2 separate regions of the Homo sapiens genome follow, and region 2 is linked to region 1. Evidence: promoter capture Hi-C in human tissues and cell types (Jung and others, 2019). All regions are on one chromosome and are shown on one strand. Each heading gives the region's core, a stretch centred on a gene start or on the middle of the fragment in contact. The rest is flanking DNA. Distances are from core to core; before and after follow the strand shown.

The links. Contacts are between HindIII fragments. The study calls those that stand out against the background at their distance.
Region 2: a contact is called between a fragment that was not itself captured here and the fragment with the promoter of EFNA4 in region 1, in 1 of the 25 tissues and cell types used here (hippocampus).

What each region holds. Positions count from the first base shown.
Region 1 is chr1:155,062,490-155,067,614 of GRCh38, forward strand. It overlaps EFNA4 (ephrin A4), which reads left to right and starts at 1,251. Exons shown (of 4, transcript NM_005227.3): 1 at 1,251-1,447; 2 at 4,241-4,527; 3 at 4,883-4,951. The coding sequence starts at 1,335. It overlaps ADAM15 (ADAM metallopeptidase domain 15), which reads left to right. Exons shown (of 23, transcript NM_207197.3): 23 at 1-286. The coding sequence ends at 13. EFNA4-EFNA3 (EFNA4-EFNA3 readthrough) reads left to right here and starts at 1,251. Exons shown (of 5, transcript NM_001407761.1): 1 at 1,251-1,447. The coding sequence starts at 1,335. It overlaps DCST1-AS1 (DCST1 antisense RNA 1), which reads right to left and starts at 1,502. Exons shown (of 4, transcript NR_040773.1): 1 at 1,268-1,502. It also overlaps ADAM15-EFNA4. RefSeq lists silencers at 652-741, 1,122-1,271, 1,562-1,711 and an enhancer at 2,202-2,703. The HindIII fragment of the contact is 5,150 bases long and covers 1-3,789 here.
Region 2 is chr1:153,963,820-153,968,651 of GRCh38, forward strand. It overlaps CREB3L4 (cAMP responsive element binding protein 3 like 4), which reads left to right and starts at 4,083. Exons shown (of 10, transcript NM_001255978.2): 1 at 4,083-4,345; 2 at 4,703-4,832. The coding sequence starts at 4,707. It also overlaps a transcript of SLC39A1 not described here. RefSeq lists enhancers at 1-505, 1-94, 3,369-4,225, 3,660-3,879, 4,090-4,199 and 1 more and a silencer at 3,840-4,341. The HindIII fragment of the contact is 3,075 bases long and covers 1-2,911 here.

The DNA of each region.
Region 1 (5,125 bases), core at 1-2,500:
GCTCTACCTCTGACCTCTCCGGAGGTTCCGCTGCCTCCAAGCCGGACTTAGGGCTTCAAGAGGCGGGCGTGCCCTCTGGAGTCCCCTACCATGACTGAAGGCGCCAGAGACTGGCGGTGTCTTAAGACTCCGGGCACCGCCACGCGCTGTCAAGCAACACTCTGCGGACCTGCCGGCGTAGTTGCAGCGGGGGCTTGGGGAGGGGCTGGGGGTTGGACGGGATTGAGGAAGGTCCGCACAGCCTGTCTCTGCTCAGTTGCAATAAACGTGACATCTTGGGAGCGTTCCCCAGAGTTTGTCTGCTTCTAGAACCCGGGTCGCTCCTGCTGCGGTTCCAGGTTTGGCCGCCAGAAGACGCTGCCGCCTCAGACGAGGGCGGGCTGTGTGGGGCGGGAGTACCAGAAAGGGTCGGCGTGTGTCCCCGGGATGCTCGCAGCTTCCCTCTGCCCAGACTGGGGTGGCTTTCGGCGCAATCTGTCAAGCTGTTGGACCTGCCGTCCCCACTCTGACCATTGGCTGGGAAAAGTGGATCTGGCTGATGCTCCCAGAGCCCAGGAGCCAGGGCGGAGCGGGGCGGCGGCTGCTCCCACGATCCCAAGGCCGCGCACCTGCCTCCTCCCCCTCCGCCGCCGCCACCTGAGGGATCGGGAACAAAGGTGCTTTGTACAGGCCGCAACCACCTCATTACTTCGTCTTAGGGACTGGGGCCGCGTGGGCCCCCAGCCCGGAACGAAGGTGTGGAGCGGCAAGGGACAGACGCCAATCCTAAAGTGAGCATCTAGCGCGCCACCTAAGGCTCTTTAGGGAAGGTGGTCCCAGAGCTGTGTTGTCCCTTCCGCTTGCACTGTCCCTAGATGTGCAAAGAAAACGGGGCAGTGCATGAAGGTGGTTGGACAGGCTTCATGGATCCTCGCCCGCGCCTCACTTTCCCCTATCTGGGCAAAGGTTATGTACCCTTATTTAAAATCTTCCAAACTTCTAATAAGGCAGTCTACCCTGCACTAAAGCAGACACGAAAGAGATGACCTCCCTAAAAATACTGCTGTTGGAATACGTCCTTCCTTCCCGCCCCCTCGCAGTGCGGTGCAGCCTCAGTGGAAGCTTTGGCGAACCTGGCGCGCGCTGCGGTGCACAGAGGGTTAACTGGAGTTGGCGCTGGGTGGAGAGGAGGAGACGCGCTCCCATTGGCGGAAAGTTATTCAGGGGCGGGGTCAGTGAATCTCCGTACCCCACTCCCCTTTCCGCAACTTCCCTCTTCACTTTGTACCTTTCTCTCCTCGACTGTGAAGCGGGCCGGGACCTGCCAGGCCAGACCAAACCGGACCTCGGGGGCGATGCGGCTGCTGCCCCTGCTGCGGACTGTCCTCTGGGCCGCGTTCCTCGGCTCCCCTCTGCGCGGGGGCTCCAGCCTCCGCCACGTAGTCTACTGGAACTCCAGTAACCCCAGGTAGCCGGGCCGAACCGGGCGAGCGCACAGCCAAGTCTGCGCGCTCCCGGGCTTTGCGCGCGCCCGCCACCCGCTCTTTGCGCGGCGCCGCCTGAGCCTGGCCGCGCGCCGGGGCTCCTTTGTTTGAGCCGGCGGGGGAGGGGGGAGGGGCGAGGGGCGAGGCGCGCCCTGGGTCTCCCCACAGCCCGCATGTGTTGGGGGGCAGGCAGAAGACCCCAGCCCCAAGGGTTGTCTAGGGGGTCTTGGAGCATGGAGCTGGGGGGGCCTTTGCCCGCACTCCGGGCTCCGCCCCCCTCGCTGCTCTCCTGGCGATCCCCAGCCTCCCGCAGGCTGGAGCTGTGGCTGACGAACTTGAGAGCGAGGGAGGGGGCTTTACTCTTATGAAAGAGCGTGGGTTACTCTCCTGCCCGCTGGGTCTCACCTCTGGCTCTCACTCTGTCTCCTGATCTCATTTGCTATCTCTGCTTTCATCTCTGTCTTTATTGGTCCTTCTGTTTCTTTCCAGTGTCAGCCCTGCCCTTCTAGCCGAATCACCTCTGGGCAAGTCTCGTGACCTTCCTAACCTCATTTATCTCACCTGTATAATGGGCTAATAATACCTAGTACCCTGGGAAGTCTGGCAGGGTAAGTGAGGTCATGTATGTGAAAGAGGCTCAGGCTGTACAGATATAAACTATTATTTCTTTCTCTCTCCTGAGCTGCCTGCCTTTGAACCTTAGTATATTTTACTGTTTCCATCCCCCTCCCCAAGTCTCCCTGCCTCTCCTATTTCCTATCTGTTTTTCTTTCTGATTTTCTACTTGAGACAATCTGTGACTATTCATTTCTTCACTCACTAACATTTATTTATTAAACACATACTGTGTGTGCCCGGCCCTGTGCTAGGTTGCAGGGGATTAACTATATAGATGAGAAGATCAAGACCCTGCCCTCTGGGATTCCACAGACTCTCTGGAGAACAGGCGCAGGCAGGAGAGCCTGCATAAAGACAGGTCATTACAATACCAATAACAAGTGATAAGAGCTTTTGTTGTCCTTGGACTCTGAATTCTCTATCTCTGTCACAGACCAAAGCTTCTGAATCACTTGGAGGACCTGTTAAAAATTCAGGTTTCTCACCCCCCAATCTTAAGGTTTCTGGCTCATTCATTCAATCCACAAATATTTATTGAACACTGTCCTGTGCTGGGCACTTTTCCAGGCACGGGGGATGCAGTAGAACAAAACTTACCAAGGCCCTGTCCTTGCTCAGCTTGCGTTCTAGTAAGTCTGGGCTGGCTGAGCCCAGGAATCTTCATTTCTAATCAGAACTGATACAGGTCGTCCTTGGACCACCCACTGGAGGCTTTTCCTAAGTCATGCTTCGCTGTGTTTGTGGTATGGGGGGTGGTTCATGCAGCATTCAGTACTGTGGGGAGCAGCCCCTTCCAGCCCTTCCCACCTGTGCTGGCTTCCCCAGGCAGCTCCCAAGAGGTGGGGAAGGGAGTCCTGAGAAGACTGAAGACTGGGTAGTATGTGGACTCCCCCCATGCCTGGCACTTGCTCCTCCTGGCCAAAAAAGGGAGGCACCTAGCACCCACTCCCTCATTCTTTTTTTTTTTTTTTTTTTAATTTTTAGAATTTAGAGACAGGGTCTTGCTCTGTCACCCAGGCTGTAGTGCGGTGGCATAATAGCTCACTACAGGAACTTGCGGACTCTAAGGATCCTCCCGCCTCAGCCTCCCAAGTAGCTGGGACTACAGGAGTGCACCACCACTCATGGCCTTTATTTATTTATTTATTTATTTATTTATTTATTTATTTATTTATTTTTTGAGATGGAGTCTCGCTCTGTCTCCCAGGCTGGAGTGCAGTGGCGCAATCTCGGCTCACTGCAAGCTCCGCCTCCCGGGTTCACGCCATTCTCCTGCCTCAACCTCCCAAGTAGCTGGGACTACAGGTGCCCGCCACCACGCCCGGCTAGTTTTCTTTTTATATTCTTAGTAGAGACGGGGTTTCACCGTGTTAGCCAGGATGGTCTTGATCTCCTGACCTCATGATCCGCCCGCCTCAGCCTCCCAAAGTGCTGGGATTACAAGCGTGAGCCACCGCGCCCAGCCTATTTATTTATTTATGGTAGAGACAGTCTCACCATGTTGCCCAGGCTGGTCTTGAACTCCTGGCCTCAAGCGATCCTCCCACCTCGGCCTCCCAAAGTGCTGGGATTCAGATGTGAGCCACCACACCTGGCCTCCCTCATTCTTTTTTTACCGTGACATTCTTTTCACCCTTGGGTTGAAGTCAGTCTAAAGGACAGTGTTCCTCACTTTATATCTGTTTGAGGAGACCTTTCCCAACCCCTGTTTCCACCTCTGTGTCTGCAGCTGCACTGTGTGCAACTGTACCTCCTGCCTCTCTGCCCAGCTTCTTCACAGCATCCATCCACCTGACATTGATCAAGCCTGGTGCTATACCACATTGAGTGTTGGGCACTGGAGCTAGAGAGGTGTGTGGCAGCTCCAGCCTGTAGGACAGGGTGTGGTGACCCTCCTTCTCACATCTAAGCTGTGTGGTTATGGGCACTGCAGGTCTTAGCCTCTCGGAACCTGTGAATCGATCATCTCATCCATTTCTTGCACTCTCTTTGTCTCTCAAGAGTTGTCAGTCTGGGAACCTCGGGCCTTCCTGAGCTGCTCCATCGCACATGGGTGGAGGAGAGGCTGGCAGGGGCCTCTGAGAAGGGGTGTCTCTGGCATCCATGGCCATGGCGTGGTGCCCTCCACTCCTCAGCCCACCCCTGCGTTATGCCTGCAGGTTGCTTCGAGGAGACGCCGTGGTGGAGCTGGGCCTCAACGATTACCTAGACATTGTCTGCCCCCACTACGAAGGCCCAGGGCCCCCTGAGGGCCCCGAGACGTTTGCTTTGTACATGGTGGACTGGCCAGGCTATGAGTCCTGCCAGGCAGAGGGCCCCCGGGCCTACAAGCGCTGGGTGTGCTCCCTGCCCTTTGGCCATGTTCAATTCTCAGAGAAGATTCAGCGCTTCACACCCTTCTCCCTCGGCTTTGAGTTCTTACCTGGAGAGACTTACTACTACATCTGTGAGTGGCCAAGGGCACACTGGACACCTCTTGTGTACCAGAAGGGTAGGGAGGGGGAAGGAGAGGCCTGGAAGGAGGAGGGGGCTGGGTCTCTAATGTACATCGGGTTGAGGTATGGGCTGAACTCAGGACTGAGGAGGGAAATGTCTAGAAAGGAGAAAGTAGGAGGAGCTAGGAAAGGGGGCCAGGGAGATGAGAGGACTGGATGGGGCCTGATACATGGGTGTGGCCCCAAAGTAAGGAAACGCTTTCCAGGGACCTGGAGAGAAGAAAACCTGGGAGGGTCTGAAACAGTCTGAGGCATACAAAGGGGTGACTCCCTGTGCTAACTTTTTCCCACTTTCCCACTACCCAGCGGTGCCCACTCCAGAGAGTTCTGGCCAGTGCTTGAGGCTCCAGGTGTCTGTCTGCTGCAAGGAGAGGAGTAAGTGGGTTGGGAGCATGGACCCTACTGGCTAATGTGGGGCCTTGGGAAGGAGGGAAGGAGTGAGAAGAATCTAGGAGGATCAGACTCCAGGGGTCCTGGTGAAGCTTCAAGCTGTGGTCTCTTCTCCCCATTTAGCCTTGAGGGAGCTTCTACTGCACCATCCTCTCCCCA
Region 2 (4,832 bases), core at 124-2,623, 1.1 Mb before region 1:
TGATTATATGGATATTTTTAAAAGAGGGAGACCCCGCATTGTCAAGTCTTCCGGCCCACATCTGAAAACATCTTCCTGGCCTTGGGCCAAAGTCTCATCTGTCCCTCAGAAGGCTCTGACACCTCGTCAGTGCCTCTTGGCGCCCAAGGGAAAGCATTCCCCTCTTGGGACCAACTTCCTTGACTGCTTTCCCTCACCAGCACCCACAACAAGGAAAAAGACAAGGCAGAATTGGAAAGGGGGGAAAGCAAAGAGAGGGTATGTCTTGAAAATCATCCCTTCTCGACTACTTATGGCACTCAGTGCAGCCTCCGCCTTCTCCAGGTGGGTGGGGACGTGGTGGGACCGGAATGCGGGGTGCTGAAGCCGCGCCCAGGGAAGAGCCCCCAGCGCATTCCAGGATATCTGCGTACCGCGCCTGCGGGCGTCTGGCCGGTTCTCCCACCTGATTTCCAGCCCAGCTCCCGCCACCCTCGCCGGTCGGTTTGCTGTTTGCTGTTCCTTGAATGCCCCAAGGTAGTTGTTTCAGCTCAGGACTTTCACCGTTTCCTCAACCTGGATTCTTGTGGCCCACAACTCTGTGCCTTGAGAATCCTCTTCTAGCCTCAAGGGACGGTAAGACAAAAGAAAATTTAAAAAGGGGGCTCAGCTGTTCTTTTATGCAAAGGTGAAAAAAGCTTCATTGCCTAAAGAAGGGACAGATGGGATCTTGCTTCCTACAGGAAAATTAATTTTAAAAAAGAAAAAAAAAAGGGGGGACAGTGTAATGCTTCTCACAAGGCTCCAGAAACGAAGCCCAGTAATTCCTTAAGTAAAAGAGGAATGTGAAGACTTCTTAAGGGGCCGGGCGCGGTGGTTCACGCCTGTAATCCAAGCACTTTGGAAGGCCGAGGATGAATCACCTGAGGACAGAAGTTCAAGACCAGCCTGGTCAACATGGTGAAACCCCGTCTCTACTAAATATACAAAAATTAGCCGGGCGTGGTGGCGGGGGCCTGTAATCCCAGCTACTCGGGAGGCCGAGGCAGGAGAATCGCTTGAACCCGGGAGCCGGAAATTGCAGTGAGCCGAGATCGCGCCATTGCGCTCCAGCCTGGGCAACAACAGCGAAACTTCGTCTCAAAAAAAAAAATTATTCGTAATTGGTAACATTAACAAGGAATTATGACTGGGGGGGTCAGGAAACCTGGATTCTGGTCCAAGTTCTACCTTTATAGTTGTCAAATATATATATTTGTTTATTTATACACATACATATGTCATATATGATTAATAATTGTATATATTTATGGTGTACAACATGATGTTTTGAAATATATGTACATTGGGCCGGGCGCGGTGGCTCACGCCTGTAATCCCAGCACTTTGGGAAGCCGAGGCGGGCAGATGACGAGGTCAGGAGTTGGAGACCAGCCTGCTCAACATGGTGAAACCCTGTCTCTACTAAAAATACAAAAATTAGCCAGGCGTGGTGGCGCATGCCTATGATCCCAGCTACTCAGGAGGCTGAGGCAGGAGAATCGCTTGAACCGGGGAGGCGGAGGTTGCAGTGAGCCAAGATCACACCTCTGCACTCCAGCCTGGACGACACAGCGAGACTCCGTCTCAAAAAAAAAGAAAAAAGAAAAGAAATATATGTACATTGCAGAATGGGTAAATCAAGCTAATTAACATATGCATTACTTCACATATTTATTTGTGATGAGAACATTTAAAATCTCTTGGCAACTTTATTTCTTTTCTTTTTCCTTCCTTCCTTCCTTTCTTCTTTCCTCCTTTCTTTCTTGACAGAGTCTTGCTGTGTTGCCCAGGCTGGAATGCAGTGGCATGCTCTTGGCTCACTACAACTTCTGCCTCCCAGGTTTCAAGCAATTCTCCCGCCTCGGCCTCCCGAGTAGCTGGGATTACAGGCGCCCGCCACCACGCCCGGCTAATTTTTGTATTTTTAGTAGAGACGGGATTTCACCATGTTGACCAGGCTGGTCTTGAACTCCTGACCTCAGGTGATCCACCCGCTTCAGCCTCCCAAAGTGCTGGGACTGCAGGTGTGAGCCACCACACCCGGCCCAATAGATCTCCTCAATTTTACCTTACCTTGATGTATGATTTTAGGCAAGTCAGTTTTCCTCACCAGAGTTTGATAAATCAGGGGCAAGGAGGAAGTTAAACAAGCAGATGACTGCAGAGGGTCCTTCCAGTTCTAACATCAACGGAAGCTAACTACATTCCCCACTCAAATCATCTCTGCACATACAGCCCGCAGGAAGCCCTTTGAAATGTATTTAACCACCTTTCTCGCTCTCAGAATGATCTCAACAAGAACAGCTTTGCTTTCCTTGGAGCTCTGCATCAATCTAGGAAGGCTGCTTTGTCTCTTCACTACTTGAGCAGGATGGAGAGATATGAGCGGGAAAGACAGATAAGAAATCTGAGAAAGCCCCACAAGGTGGGTTGATAGTGTGAAGAACATGGGCTGAAGCATCCAAATCTTGGTTCAGCTACTTACAGGGTAACCTTGAGAAAGTTACTTAAACTTGTCAGCTCGGACGGGCGTGGTGGCTCACGCCTGTAATCCCAGCACATTGGGAGGCCGAGGTGGACGGATCACGAGGTCAGATCGAGACCACCCTGGCTAACACGGTGAAACCCTGTCTCTACTAAAAATACAAAAAAATTAGCTGGGCGCCTGTAGTCCCAGCTACTAGGGAGGCTGAGGCAGGAGAATGGCGTGAACCCGGGAGGCGGAGCTTGCAGTGAGCCGAGATCGAGCCTCTGCACTCCAGCCTGGGCCACAGAGCAAAAGAAAAACAAACAAACAAACTTGTCAGCTCCATCTGCTGTAAGAATTATATGAGTAACATGGAAATGCCTGACTAGACCCTGTTCCCGTTTTTACCCTTAGCCCGTTCAAATCTTCATAAGGATAATTAGTAGCAGTTTGAGTTCTGGGATTCACACTCCAAACTACTGTTTTACTCACCCAGCTACCCTTTTCTGAAATACTACTGAAAACCATACCTGTATCAGTTTACCTCCATTGTTTTACTTGAAGTGAATTCCTGGACCATCAGACATTAGACCAAGGCAAAAAAATAAAAATAATCAATCAACCCTGAGTTTTGGTATTACTACTTTCTAGTCATGGATCTGCCTCCTCATAGGTAAAATTTGCAAAATATTACCCGCCGTGTGTGCCTCAGAACTGTTATGGATTAAGGAAGAGAACAATTTTTATGAAAACGTTTTGTAAATTATACAAGTGTGGGACATAATGTTCCCGGTAACTGTATGCAAACAATAAGACAACAAACGCAAAAGGCTTTTTAACTTGTTGCAGTTTTCCTGCCCCGTGTCCCTCCGTGAATGAGCAGCGTGCAGCGAGCGTGTGCGCACAGCTGCTGTTCTCCATTAACGCCACACTGCTCGGCTTGCGGACGGGGAAACCCGCCATCGCGCTCCTGCCGCCTGCCGAGCGAGGATCACCGCTCCACTGGGGTCAGCGGGCTGTTGACTCCCCGCCTGGGTGAAACCGGAGCTTCCGAGTCACGTGGCGCGCGAAGACAAACCTGGCTGCTCAGGGTTTCCCGGAGCTTTCTCCCAGCTTCCCGGCGATTCATATTCTGGCGCTTACCCCTCCCTTTAGGCTGGCGGAACCCAATCCCCGCCTGACAAATAAGTCCCGCCGGCCGGACGCAGTGGCTCGCGCCTGTGGTCCTAGCTGCTCGCGGTGCTGAGGCGGGAGAATCACCTGAGCCCGGGAGGTCGGGGGCTGCATGGAACCGTGATCGCACCACCGCACTCCAGCCTGGGCAACAGAGCGAGACCCTGTCTCCAAAAATAAGAATAAAGAAAAAAAAAAGAAAGAACTGCGGCCCCATTGGCCTGACTCTCCTGAACAGCCAAACTGTCTCCGACCAGTTACGGAAGAGGCGGCCTTGAGAGGGTAGTGTGCCATTGGCTCGATGTCCTGCCCCTCCGAAACCTAAGTCTTCAGCTTCCAATCAGGACTCAGCTTTGGGAAGAGCGCCACGCGGTGGGCGAGGGGATGCCCTAGTAAATTCGCAGGTCTCTTGACTCTTTCCGCCTTTGTTTACAACCCTGCCATGATCTCCCTCTTGCAAAAGCGAGGGCTACAGAACAGGCATTCAGGAGTCCTGTGCTCCAGTCACAGCCTTTTCTGTTCTTCAGCTAGGAGACACCAAACCCTCAGGAAGATTTACTATAGCTAAGAGAAAACTGCAGCAGAAAGGGCGCGGCTACCTACTTCTTAAATTCCGTTTGTGGACCCTCAGACTCTTAGTCCCCTACTCCCAGATACAGCGGCCCTACCGTGGCTCCTGGCAAGGTGGCATCCACTTTTGTAGTGTAAGGCTGGGGGCGGGGTTTGGCTGGCAGGTCCAGGATACGAGATCCTGGAAGAAAGAAAAGGTGTAGTGTTTGGGGAGGTCAACGGGCTATGCTGGCTTGACAGGGCTGGGCTCTTCAGAACAGGTAATGCTTGGGGGGGGCCTCTTTGTCTAAACCTGAGGGATAGGGCTGAAGGTGAAATATCGAGGGGACAGGTGAGGGGGCTTGCTAGTGAGGAAGGAGTGGGGGGGCGGGGATAATGGAAAAGGGAGCAGAGGAGCCCAGAAACTGTAGGGGGTAGTAAGCAGCCATCATTCCGTTTCTGCAACCCTCCGTCCCACACGCCTTCCTGCAGAAGCATGGATCTCGGAATCCCTGACCTGCTGGACGCGTGGCTGGAGCCCCCAGAGGATATCTTCTCGACAGGATCCGTCCTGGAGCTGGGACTCCACTGCCCCCCTCCAGAGGTTCCGGTAACTAGGCTA